2 separate regions of the Homo sapiens genome follow, and region 1 is linked to region 2. Evidence: promoter capture Hi-C in human tissues and cell types (Jung and others, 2019). All regions are on one chromosome and are shown on one strand. The core of a region is centred on a gene start or on the middle of the fragment in contact, and the rest is flanking DNA. Distances in the headings are between cores, read along the strand shown.

The links. The method cuts DNA at HindIII sites, captures the fragments that hold promoters and counts their contacts. A contact is called where the count stands out against the background at its distance.
Region 1: a fragment that was not itself captured here is called in contact with the fragment with the promoter of KIAA0930 in region 2 in 1 of the 25 tissues and cell types used here (dorsolateral prefrontal cortex).

The regions. Positions count from the first base shown.
Region 1 is chr22:45,759,021-45,764,227 of GRCh38, forward strand. The region is part of intron 9 of ATXN10 (ataxin 10); the gene reads left to right. It overlaps MIR4762 (microRNA 4762), which reads left to right and starts at 1,504; the gene lies at 1,504-1,578. RefSeq lists an enhancer at 3,631-4,224 and a silencer at 3,789-4,083. The HindIII fragment of the contact is 7,619 bases long and covers 14-5,207 here.
Region 2 is chr22:45,239,644-45,245,280 of GRCh38, forward strand. It overlaps KIAA0930, which reads right to left and starts at 1,251. Exons shown (of 10, transcript NM_001009880.2): 1 at 997-1,251. The coding sequence starts at 1,060. RefSeq lists silencers at 825-914, 1,065-1,124, 1,285-1,344, 1,375-1,574. The HindIII fragment of the contact is 11,413 bases long and covers 1-5,637 here.

The sequences.
Region 1 (5,207 bases), core at 2,573-5,072, 520 kb after region 2:
AAGTACCATTCTTATTTAAAGGCAGTATATCTCATATCTTTAAAGATAACTTTAGAAACTTACTGCCAGAGAAACAAATATTGATTAAGAGCACACTGTGTGCCAAGCATTATGCGAGGTGCTGGAGAGAAGGAAGGGGAAGAAAAGGTCCTCACCCTCAAGTAACTTGAAGCTTAGAGGGACAATGATAAATAGTAAAAGATTCTAGAGTCCGGGCATGGTGGTTCACACCTGTAATCCCAACACTTTGGGAGGCTGAGGTGGGCGGATCACCTGAGGTCAGGAGTTCAAGACCAGCCTGGCTAACATGGTGAAACCCTGTCTCTACTAAAAATACAAAAAGTAGCCGGGCGTGGTGGCGCATGCCTGTAATCCCAGCTACTCGGGAGGCTGAGGCGGGAGAATCACCTGAACTCGGGAGGCAGAGGTTGCAGTGAGCCGAGATAGCATCACTGCACTCCAGCCTGGGCAGAGCAAGACTCCGTGTCAAACAAACAAACAAAAAAGATTCTAGAGCAGTCTGATCAGGGTGAGGGTTCCGTACTCTTCTTGTGCCATGAAGCAGGAGGAAAGGCCTCCTGAGGGAGCTGAGGCTGCACGAGGATGAGCAAGGTTTCATAATGTCCTCCAGAGGCCAGTTTACCAAGCTGCATCAGCTCCTCCCTCCCAGCCACCCTGCCCTTCATAAAGCTCTAGTTTTGTAGGGGATGGGGTGGGATGGGGTCACACCTCAGCTGCCGGCATGAGCTAAGGGACCATATAACAGTCAGCACTGTCCATCGCTTGCTTCTCTCTCTTTCTAATTTACATACAGCTAAACACAGATTTTTAATGAATGGCTGATAAGTTTTGACAGATGTCTGCACCTGTGTAATTATCACCCCAGTCAAGGTACAGAGAGCACCTCTATCCCCTCAGAAAGTTTTTTCCATGCTGGCTGTTGTGTGCCAGTGTGCCAGGAGAGCATGGGGCAGGGGAATGATGGCCCTAAGAAAGGAAGGAGGAACAGGGGGAATCTTGAATTACATTCTTTCCCCACGTGGAGATAGATTTGTGCTAATTCCACAACGTGGAACATCCTCCTTCGTTTGCTTAGACTTCCCTGGGAGCAGTAGCCCATGTACTGGTGGCCTAGCTCAACTGTGGCTTGGTTCTGGGCCTGTAAAGCCATCTTTCCCACCTACAGATGACATTCCCTATCTTCATCATGTGCTTTTAGTCAGGTTTCCTGCGGGCCAGATGCATCTGAGAGTGTGCCCTCATTAATATGGGACTCTGTGTATGTCCAGCACATGTGGGGTTTATTCACGTACCAGTGATTATTATTCAACATCGTTCCCTTTAGTGCAGCAAGCACTTTCTGAGTGCTTACCATGTGCCACTTTCTGTGAACCTCTGCAGTTCAACAGTGGAGTCAGAGGCAGTCCTTGTTCTCAAGTAGCTCATGATCTACTGTGGGAGACAGATGGCTAGATGATAGGGTGTAGTCATATCCCATTATTTCTGATACCCCAAATCTTGATCAGAAGCCTTGATCAGAAGCTAGGAAGGCTTCTGATCAAGATTTGTGGTGTCAAGAATAACAACGATTACAGCAATAGTAGTTGCTTATTGAGTGTGTCCTGTGTCCTAGGCACAGTTCTGAGTATTCGTCTCTTACCTCATTTAATGATGATACCTCTCCCATGTTGCAGATGAGGAGACTGAGGGCCAGAATGGTTCAGTAGTGTACCCAAGGCCACACAGCTGTTAAGTGGCATGAGAAAGAAAGAAACTTTCATTTTAAGCCTCTTAGATTTTTGTGGATTGTTTGTTACTGCAGCACGAACCAGCCCATCCTCACTGATAAGAGCCCCAGTGTGCGGAGTGGATTCCTGAGCCAGTTAAAAGGTTGCTACAGCAGTGGAGGCCTGGTTGGAGGGTGGTGATAAGCCTGGAAATAAAAGGACATATGTGAGAGACAGTAATTTGATAAAGAGTAATGAAAGAGGAAGCTTTCTTTCAGGTAGCTTATTCTGTTTCATTATTGTTGTTTTCCTTTTGGGAAAGAAGTTGAATTTTCATTGTTGGCTTATGTTTTCAAGGGTGACCTCAGTATTTTATTTTATTTTATTTTTTTGAGACGGAGTCTTGCTCTGTCGCCAGGTTGGAATGCAGTGGCGTGATTTCGGCTCACTGCAACCTCCACCTCCCAGGTTCAGGCGATTCCCCAGCCTCAGCCTCCCAAGTAGCTGGGACTTTAATGTTTTTATATTGGTGATTTTGAGCAGAGACTGTATTACCATCTAAAACACTACAAGCCTAGCATGTAAGCTCCATGTCTGTTTGCTCCTCATTCTCTCCAGGGCCCCTGGCACAGTTCCGGGCCCACAGTGAGTGCTCTGTAAACTTTTAGGGATGAACAAATGAATATTTTTAAATCTGTTCATTGTTTTCACAGTTAAACTTTTCTAAGCACTTATGTAATACTGTGTTTACTTAATTTTCATTTCTCACCAACCTTTATGGAAGACTAGGTGATAACTGGTTAAATTGTAATACAGTATCATAGGTATAATCTCGAAAAGGTAAAAATCAAATGTAACGAAGCATTATAATCCAGTGACTGGAACATTTTATGCAAGCCTTTGCTCTTTATTTATCTATTTTTTTATCATACACTTCTTCCCAGTTTTTGCTTAGTCCTTGTTAGCAGTTACATTAAAATCTGTTTTAAGTTCCACCTCAGGGAATATCAAAAGTTGGTTACTTTTCTAAATGGGCCTTTAATTAAAATTTTAAAAAATTAGACCATTGTGTTAGATTTTTTAAAATGTTGGCTAAAACAGAAAAGGTTGATTTCAGTGCAGTTGGGCTGAAACTATACTTAAATAGATTAAAGTATAATCTGGCTTTTAAAAAAAACACATCTGACTGGGATGAAGTAGTTGTGGTCTTAACTGAAGCAGGTGAATGGACCATATTCGCCTTTAAGAGCCTTCTGACTCCCAGGTTTTCTGATTTTTAAAAACTTCCTATTTAGTCATATGTTTTTACTTCACTTTATGGTTTAAGTGAGCCAACCAACAAAAGTTACTCATAAAAGATAGTATTTTACTTGTAACAATTGCAGAAAAAGTGAAAAGCTTGACATTACAGGTAGAAAGGAAGTCAGTCTCTGTCCCCTGTGCGTTTCCGAGACTGTGTTTCTATTTATTTGCCCTTTGTCTGTTTCCCCTGACCAGCGTGCGTTTCTTTCTGGAGGCGCAGGGACCTCGGCTTATTTTTCTCTGTCTTTGCATTGCTTGACAGAGGGCCTGACCCAGGGTAGGCACTCCCGCTTCATGACTACATCTCATTTTTTATTTATCTTTGTTATGATAGATAGCAGATAAAGCAGTTGATTTCAGTCAGAAGCAGACCACAGCAGCAGGATTCTTTCCACGGTGCATGTTCTGGCTGAGTGTTGGTGGGCTCCACCCTAGCCGAACCTGTGTCTGCACACCTGTTGTGTCTTCCTGGGAGGCTCCCAGGCATGCTCCTGTCTGGCCAGGGTGCTTCCTCCTCGCTCTCCAGCTGGCTGAAGGGAAGCTGGGCAAGAGTGTATGTGTTTAGGCCACAGGGAGAGCACAGACTCCCAGAGCATGAACCAAGGGGCTTCCAGGCCTCAGGGACTGCCTCCTGGTCCCCCAGAGGCCACCTCACTCTTACTCCTGTCTCCAGGCTGGTGACCTCACATGGCCCCAGCCATCTCTCCACATCCTCCCCTCCCTGCTGTGGAGCCCCCACTGACAGATGCCTTCCCCCTGTGTTTTGGCTCCAAATTCCAAGTGAGAGTAATTGCGTGGCTTCCCTTGGGTCTGTCTCCATCCCTGTTGTAGTCCCTCACAGCCCAGACTGTGGACTGCAGAGGCATCACCTAGGGGCTTGTCTGAGATGCAGAGTCTCAGGCTCTACCCCAGCATCCGGAATCAGACCATCCTCAGGGGATTGGAATGCACAGAAGCATTTAAGAAGCGCTTTGTAAAGCCATGGCCTCTCCTGCGCAAAGAACTGCGTGGTCCCTTTTCCTGGAGTAGGAGGCTGTGGCTACAGCATTTTCATCTGGAAGGAGGCCTAGGAAATGATGTTTCTGTGGCCTTCCTACCCCCTCTCCCTCACCCTGGTGACTCTCAGTTGGGGAGGGCTGCCGGGCAGTGTTCTGGGGGCAGGGAGGTGGTGGGAGAATCTGGAGAGCTGGAGAGAGTGAGGTGGTGAGGTGGGCCTGGCGTGTTCAAGGCAGAGAAGGAAGGAACGAGGGAACTGGCTGGAGAGACTTGGAGGGCTCCTCAGAGATGAGGCTGAGTGGGAGTGAAGGTTTCGTCAAGGTTACGAAAGGCCTTTGAGTTCAAGCTGAGGCCTTTGGACTTGGCCCCTCGCTCGCTTTGCCAGGAGACAGGCGGCTCCTTGCCTGAGCCTCTGTGCTTGCGCTCCTCTCCCCAGCCCCAGGTCTGCAGAGTGTGTGGCTGCTGCACCCTCAGGTGTTTGCTCATCTCCTCACAGGTCTTTCCTGCCCCCTACCTGTTAAAAGTCGGACCCCACCACGCCCCCCACCTCTCTGTCCCTGCTCTTTGGGCCCTTCCTTTTCCCCAGGTTGGGCTCTTGCCTTTTTCTCTGTTCCTTCACTGCCACAGGTCAGACTGTCTTCATATGCATGCATTTACAGGCACATTTGTGGTTGGTTTTGTCTGCTCTGCTCTTCGCAACCCTAGAATGTAAGTACAAGGAGGATAGGCAGGGACCATTTGTCTCTTCACCATTCTGGTGCTGGGAACAGCATAGCATGGTGGTGGAGTGGGCTCACTGAGTGAGCTGGTGAGCATGGGCTGTCTTGAGGTGCCGGCTGTGTTAGGCTCTTACCCCCACCTCCCCCAGTGTCTTCCAGGCCCCCTTCTTATCTAAGGCTGCTACGTGTTATTGGAGAAAATTATAATACCTGACTTGTGAGTTCCATTCCAGAATTCGGCCAGCCAGTTTCTCCCCGGCCTCTCCGGCAGCCTCTCTGCTTCTCCCTGATCCTGCAGCGTGTGCTTGAAATCCTTCCTCACGGTGCACACTCATCTTCAATACTGCAGCATCTGACCCTGACTTCATACGCTTGCTTGCTAAGTCCACATTCTCTGCAGGAATCATCTTCTCCCTCCCCCATCGCAGGGGAGTTCCCTCTCTGCAGGGTTAGATCCACCGCT
Region 2 (5,637 bases), core at 1-2,500:
GGGGGATGCACTTGTTCTCTGGGACTCAGTTTCCCCAACGGTGAATGAAGGGGTGAATCTGGAAGGCTGACATTCCGTACTCAGCAATGCTGTCACCCCCTCAGAAATCCCCAGCCTAGCCTGGGGGTGGGGTGGGGGGTGGCTGACAATGTGGTATGAAGTCATTCCCTGCACGGAGGAGGGAGGGGTCTTTTCCATGGAGAAAATGACGAACCTGAGACGACAAAAGAGGGGGCTTCTCCTGGGCTTCAGTCTGGGCATGATCCATCAGTAATGGATTACCTCACTGGCTGGGAGACCCCACCCACACCTGCAGTCCCAGGCCCTTCCAAACAATACGAGGCACCCCCATCCCACGCCCCCCAGCAGATCCATGACTTAAAGCCCAGAATCACACCGAGAGGCAGCAGGCCCTGCCCCTCAGCCAAGCGGGCGGGTTCGGGGGGCCATTGCCCAACAGGTCCCTGGATACAGCTAAGGGATGAGAGGGGCCGGTGGGTGCGGAAAGACAAAGGCTTCGGGTAGCAGGAGACAGTGGCCAGGGCACGCTCGCAGCGAGGTCCACCCAGAGCCCAACGAGGGCCCGACCCTGCCGCGCTGGGCTAAGGGTGTACCCAGATCCCACGCCCACACTCCCTACCGCGGTGCTGAGGGCCCGGGGCGGGCTTCCTGGAGAAGGAAGAAGACCCGCAGAGACACGAAGAAGAAGGAGGAAGATGAGACAGACACCCGGACGGACTGACAGGGGGAGACGCCGAATGAGACCCGGGCACAGGGGTGCGGGGCGCTCGTCGGACGGAAAGCAGAGACAGACCCAGATGCAGGGACGGTGGGGGGGGGGCCATGGAGGAAGACAGGGTACCCAGGCAGACCCAGAGACCACGACACCCGCGCAGAGACAGAGATGCGCGGGGCGCACAGAAACACGGACGCGCAGAGGCGGCCCCGGAGACGCTCACCTCTCCCGGCCCGGCCTCGCCCCCGGGTCCCACTCACCGAGGCCGCAGACCTCGCGGCGCAGGCTAAGACGGCCGCGCTCCTCCGCTATGGCACGCAGCATGTGCTGCAGCGAGCGCTCCTCGGCCTCGGCGCCGCCCGCAGGCTCGGGGGCGGCGGCGGCGGGGAGGGCGGGCGGCCCGGCCCGCAGCCCGCCGCGAGCACCAAGGAAGCCACAGTCCGCCTCTGTGCGCGTCGCCGTCGCCGCCGCCGCCGCCACCACCCGCCAAACACAGCACCGGCGAGCGCACCTCCGCGCCGCCGCCGCCCGCGCGCCCCCGGCTCCGCTCGCCCCGCCCCGGCCCGGCCCGGCCCCGGTCCGGCCCCGCCCCTTCCCCGCCCCGGCCCCGCCCCTGTCCCCTCCCGCCCCGCCTCTGAACGGCCCGGACCCACCCCGGCTCCCTGGCCCCGCCCCCTGACCTCCCTTGCCCCGCCCACTTCCAAACGGCCAGTCTCCGCCAATCTTCGGATGCCCAGGACAGCCTCCCTCAAACCGCTCGCGGGGTCCCGCCTCCACCCAAGGTCCTAAACGCCCCACCAACGGGATCACGCCTCTGAGCCCCTCCCGCCGCCCCTTCAGGGCACCTCTCCCCTCCCCCGCTGCTACCCCACGGGATGTGTACTTTGTCACCCGCCCTGTGCGTTGCCACCTCCACCAAGTCCCCTCGGCTGACTTCTGGGAACTTCCTCCGCAGAACCCCTCAAGAGGTCACCTGCTCCCAGAAGGTGGTCTCCTGGGGGACACCGTGGCAAAGCCCTTCCGGCCCCCCTCCTCTGCACCTGGCACAGTGCAGAGTGTTGCGCCTCCATTTCCTCAGCTGCACCATGGGGGACCTTTCCCTGCCTTGCCTCCCCAACATGGGGGAGTGTTGATGAAGGGGGAGGTATGAGGTTAGCTGGGCGTGTCATCCTGATGAAGCCAGGTCTGGCCAGCATCCCTCCGTGTGCTAGTTGTGGCTGATACAGGAAGACACCGGAGAAGCAGCCAGTGGCCTCCCCAAACCTCACGCCTGGTGGTCCATTTCCAAGAACAGGGGGAGATGGAGAGACCAGCATTGATTTCCAGGTCTCTCCAAAGCTAAATCTACATCACTCCCTGCATTCACAGCCTGTGTGTGGACCCCAGACCCATCAAGGTCCCCCTTTCCCCTGTCTGGAGTCCTCTTCTCCCCATTCCTGTGTAACTTGCTTCCTTTGTGTCCCGAGTGTCACATCCTCAAAGAAACTCCCCTGACCGCCTTCCCTCCCTCTCTCTTCCCTTAGTCTGTTTCTCCTTCACAGGGTGACACTTACCTCCTCCCGACACATTGGATACCTATGGGTTCACTTGTTCTCTTCTCTACCGAGGGAGGGGCCTGTCTACTACACAGCTGTTGTCTCAGTACCCAGAACATTGCCTGGCACACATTAGATGCCCAATAAATAGATATGGGCTGCAGGCTGGGCACAGTGGCTCATGCCTGTAATCCCAACACTTTGGGAGGCCGAGGTAGGTGGATTGCCTGAGGTTAGGAGTTCCAGAACAGCCTGGCTAAAATGGTGAAACCCCATCTCTACTAAAAATACAAAAATTAGCCGGGCATGGTAGCACACATTTGTAATCCCAGCTACTCTGGAGGCTGAGGCAGGAGAATTGCTTGAACCTGGGAGGCGGAGGCTGCAGTGAGCCGAGATCCCGCCACTGCACTCCAAGCTGGGAGACAGAGCAAGACCCTGTCCCCCCCCAAAAAAAAAGAAAAGAAAAGAAAAAAAAATGTAGGCTGCATAAACGAAGAATGATGGAGAGGTCTGATGGGGACGCAGGGGTCTTCCTGGGAGGCACAGCAGGAAGGAGCCGTGGGGTTGGGCAGAGCCCCAGAAGGGAGATGGGATCTGGATCCTGCTTCAGGCCTCTGCCCCAGTTTTGTGCCACTGGCCCCTGAACTCTTCAGAGCAGAGCCACATCTGACCCCTCTGTGTCCCCAGTGCCAGGCCCAGGAGGGCTCTGTAGAAAGGTGAGCAGTGAGGGAATGAAGGAAGTGCGCGACCAGCCTCACGTGTATTTCTCTTCTCCAGTGGGCCTGCATCCCTGTCTGTAAAGTGAGGACACTGGCATGAGGGCTGAGGCCTCTGGTTCTGCGTCTGGAGAGCTGGGGTTTGGGCTGGTGGACGTGAGAACTGGGGATGGTGGATCAGACAGCATGAGCGAGTGCTCCAAGGCTGTCAAGTCCAATAGTCACATCCCTCTTTGCCTCCCCAAACCCCACAGCACCCCCTGCCTGTTCCCACTGCCATGCGTTTGCCCACAGTGTTCCCTTGGCCTGAAATCCTTTCTGCTCCGCAACTGTAGTTGCCTTTGGGACCCACATTGCCTGGTTACGCTTGGCCAATGCATTGTGTTCTTATTTGCTTCACAAACCCCCTTTCCCCACCCCACCCTCCTGCACACAGTTGCCTCCGTGTATTCTGTGTCATATGACCAGCATTGAACCAATTCATCCCACTTCCCGTGGCACCCAGCCCAGGACTGGTGCCAGAAAAATATCTGTTGAATGAATGAGTAAACAAACATCGCTTGGGCTCTCTCCTTTGTATTTCAATAATACTCCAGGTATTACCTATACACAGAATTTTCTTTCTTTCTTTTTTTTTTTTTTTTTTTTTGAGGCGGAGTTTTGCTCTTGTTGCCCAGGCTGGAGTACAATGTCGCGATCTCGCCTCACCGCAACCTCCACCTCCCAGGTTCAAGCAATTCTCTTGCCTCAGCCTCCCAAGTAGCTGGGATTACAGGCATGTGCCACCACGCCCGGCTAATTTCATGGAGATGGGGTTTCTCCATGTTGGTCAGGCTGGTCTCGAACTCCTGACCTCACATATACACAGAATTTTCTAATGTCAACAAATGCTAAATCACACTGTGCATGGGAAGAGGGCAGGAGCAGGACTTCTGGGGCTACAGAGCATGTTCTGTTTCTTGATCTGGGGGCTGGTTACACGGGTGTGGTCAGTTTATGAAAATTAAAAGGCTGCACAGCTGGGCATGGTGGCTCACGCCTGTAATCCCAGCACTTTGGGGGGCCAAGGCGGGCAGATCACCTGAGGTCGGGAGTTCGAGACCAGCCTGGCCAACCTGGCGAAACCCCATCTCTACTAAAAATACAAAAATTAGCTGGGCGTAATGGCACACACCTGTAGTCCCAGCTATTCTGGAGGCTGACGCAGGAGAATCGCTCGAACCTGGGAGGCAGAGGTTGCAGTGAGCCGAGATTGTGCCACTACACTCCAACCTGGGCAACAGAGCGAGACTCCATCTCAAAAAAAAAAAAAAGTTAGAAAATCAAAAGGCTGTGTGCTGTGGTTCAAACCTGTAACCACAGCACTTTGGGAGGCCAAGGCAGGCAGGAGGCTGGCTTAGGCCCAGGAGTTTGAGACCAGCCTGGCCAACATAGCAAGACCTCATCTTTACAAAAAAAAAAAAATTAGCCAGGTGTGATGACACACGTCTGTGGTCACAGCTACTCAGGAGGCTGAGGTGGGAGGATTGCTTGAGGCGGGGAAGTCAAGGCTGCAGTGAGCCGCGATCACACTGCTGCACTCCAGCCTAGGCAACAGAGTGAGACCTGGTCTCAAAAAAAAAATATATATATATGTATATATAACATATATATATGTAATATATATAATATATATGTTATATATGTAATATATGTATGTAATATATATATAAAGCTGGCATTTTGTAATTATTTATGCACTTTTCTGTATACAAATATTCAGAATATAAAATAGAATTGAAAGTATATAGGCAGAATAATGGCCCCAAAATGCCCACACCCTAATTCCTGTGCTAATTCCTGTGAATATGTTGCCTTACCTGGCAAAATGGACTTTGCTGACGTGATTTTTTGTTTGTTTGTTTTCGAGACAGGGTCTCACTCAGTTGCCCAGGCTGGAGTGCAGTGGCACGATCTTAGCTCACTGCAACCTCCACCTCCCCAGCTCAATCCATCCTCCCACCTCAACCTCCTGAGTAGCTGGGACTAAGGGTGTGTGCCACCACACCCGGCTATTTTTTGTATTTTTTGGTAGAGACAGGGTTTCACCATGTTGGCCAGGCTGGTCTCGAACTCCCGACCTCAAGTGATCTGCCCACCTCGGGCTCCCAAAGTGCCGGGATTACAGGCATGAGCTGCCACATGGGGCCTAAGAGTACAGACACTGAGATAGGGAGACTATCCTGGGTTATCCAAGTGGGCCCAATCTCATCACATAAATTCTTAAAATCGGGGAACATTTCCTGGCTGTGGTCAAAAAGAGATGTGACAACACAAGAATGGTCAGGTAAATGCAATGTTGCTGGCACTGAAGAGGGAGGAAGGGGCCACAAGACAAGGCATACAGGCAGCTTCCGGAAGCTGGAAGAGGCAAGGAAACAGATTCTCCTACAGTTGCCCCCAGATATGACACAGCCCTGCCTGCACCTTGACTTTAGCTCAGCAAGACCTCAGTTGAACTTCTAACCTACAGAACTGGAAATGTGTTAAGGCAATAACGTTGTAGTAATTATTACAGCAGTGATACCAATACGTGGGCAAGCCTGAGATGTGGGCATTGTGTCAGCTCTCCACCTAAGCGCTTCTATCCCTGAGGTTTATTTTGCAA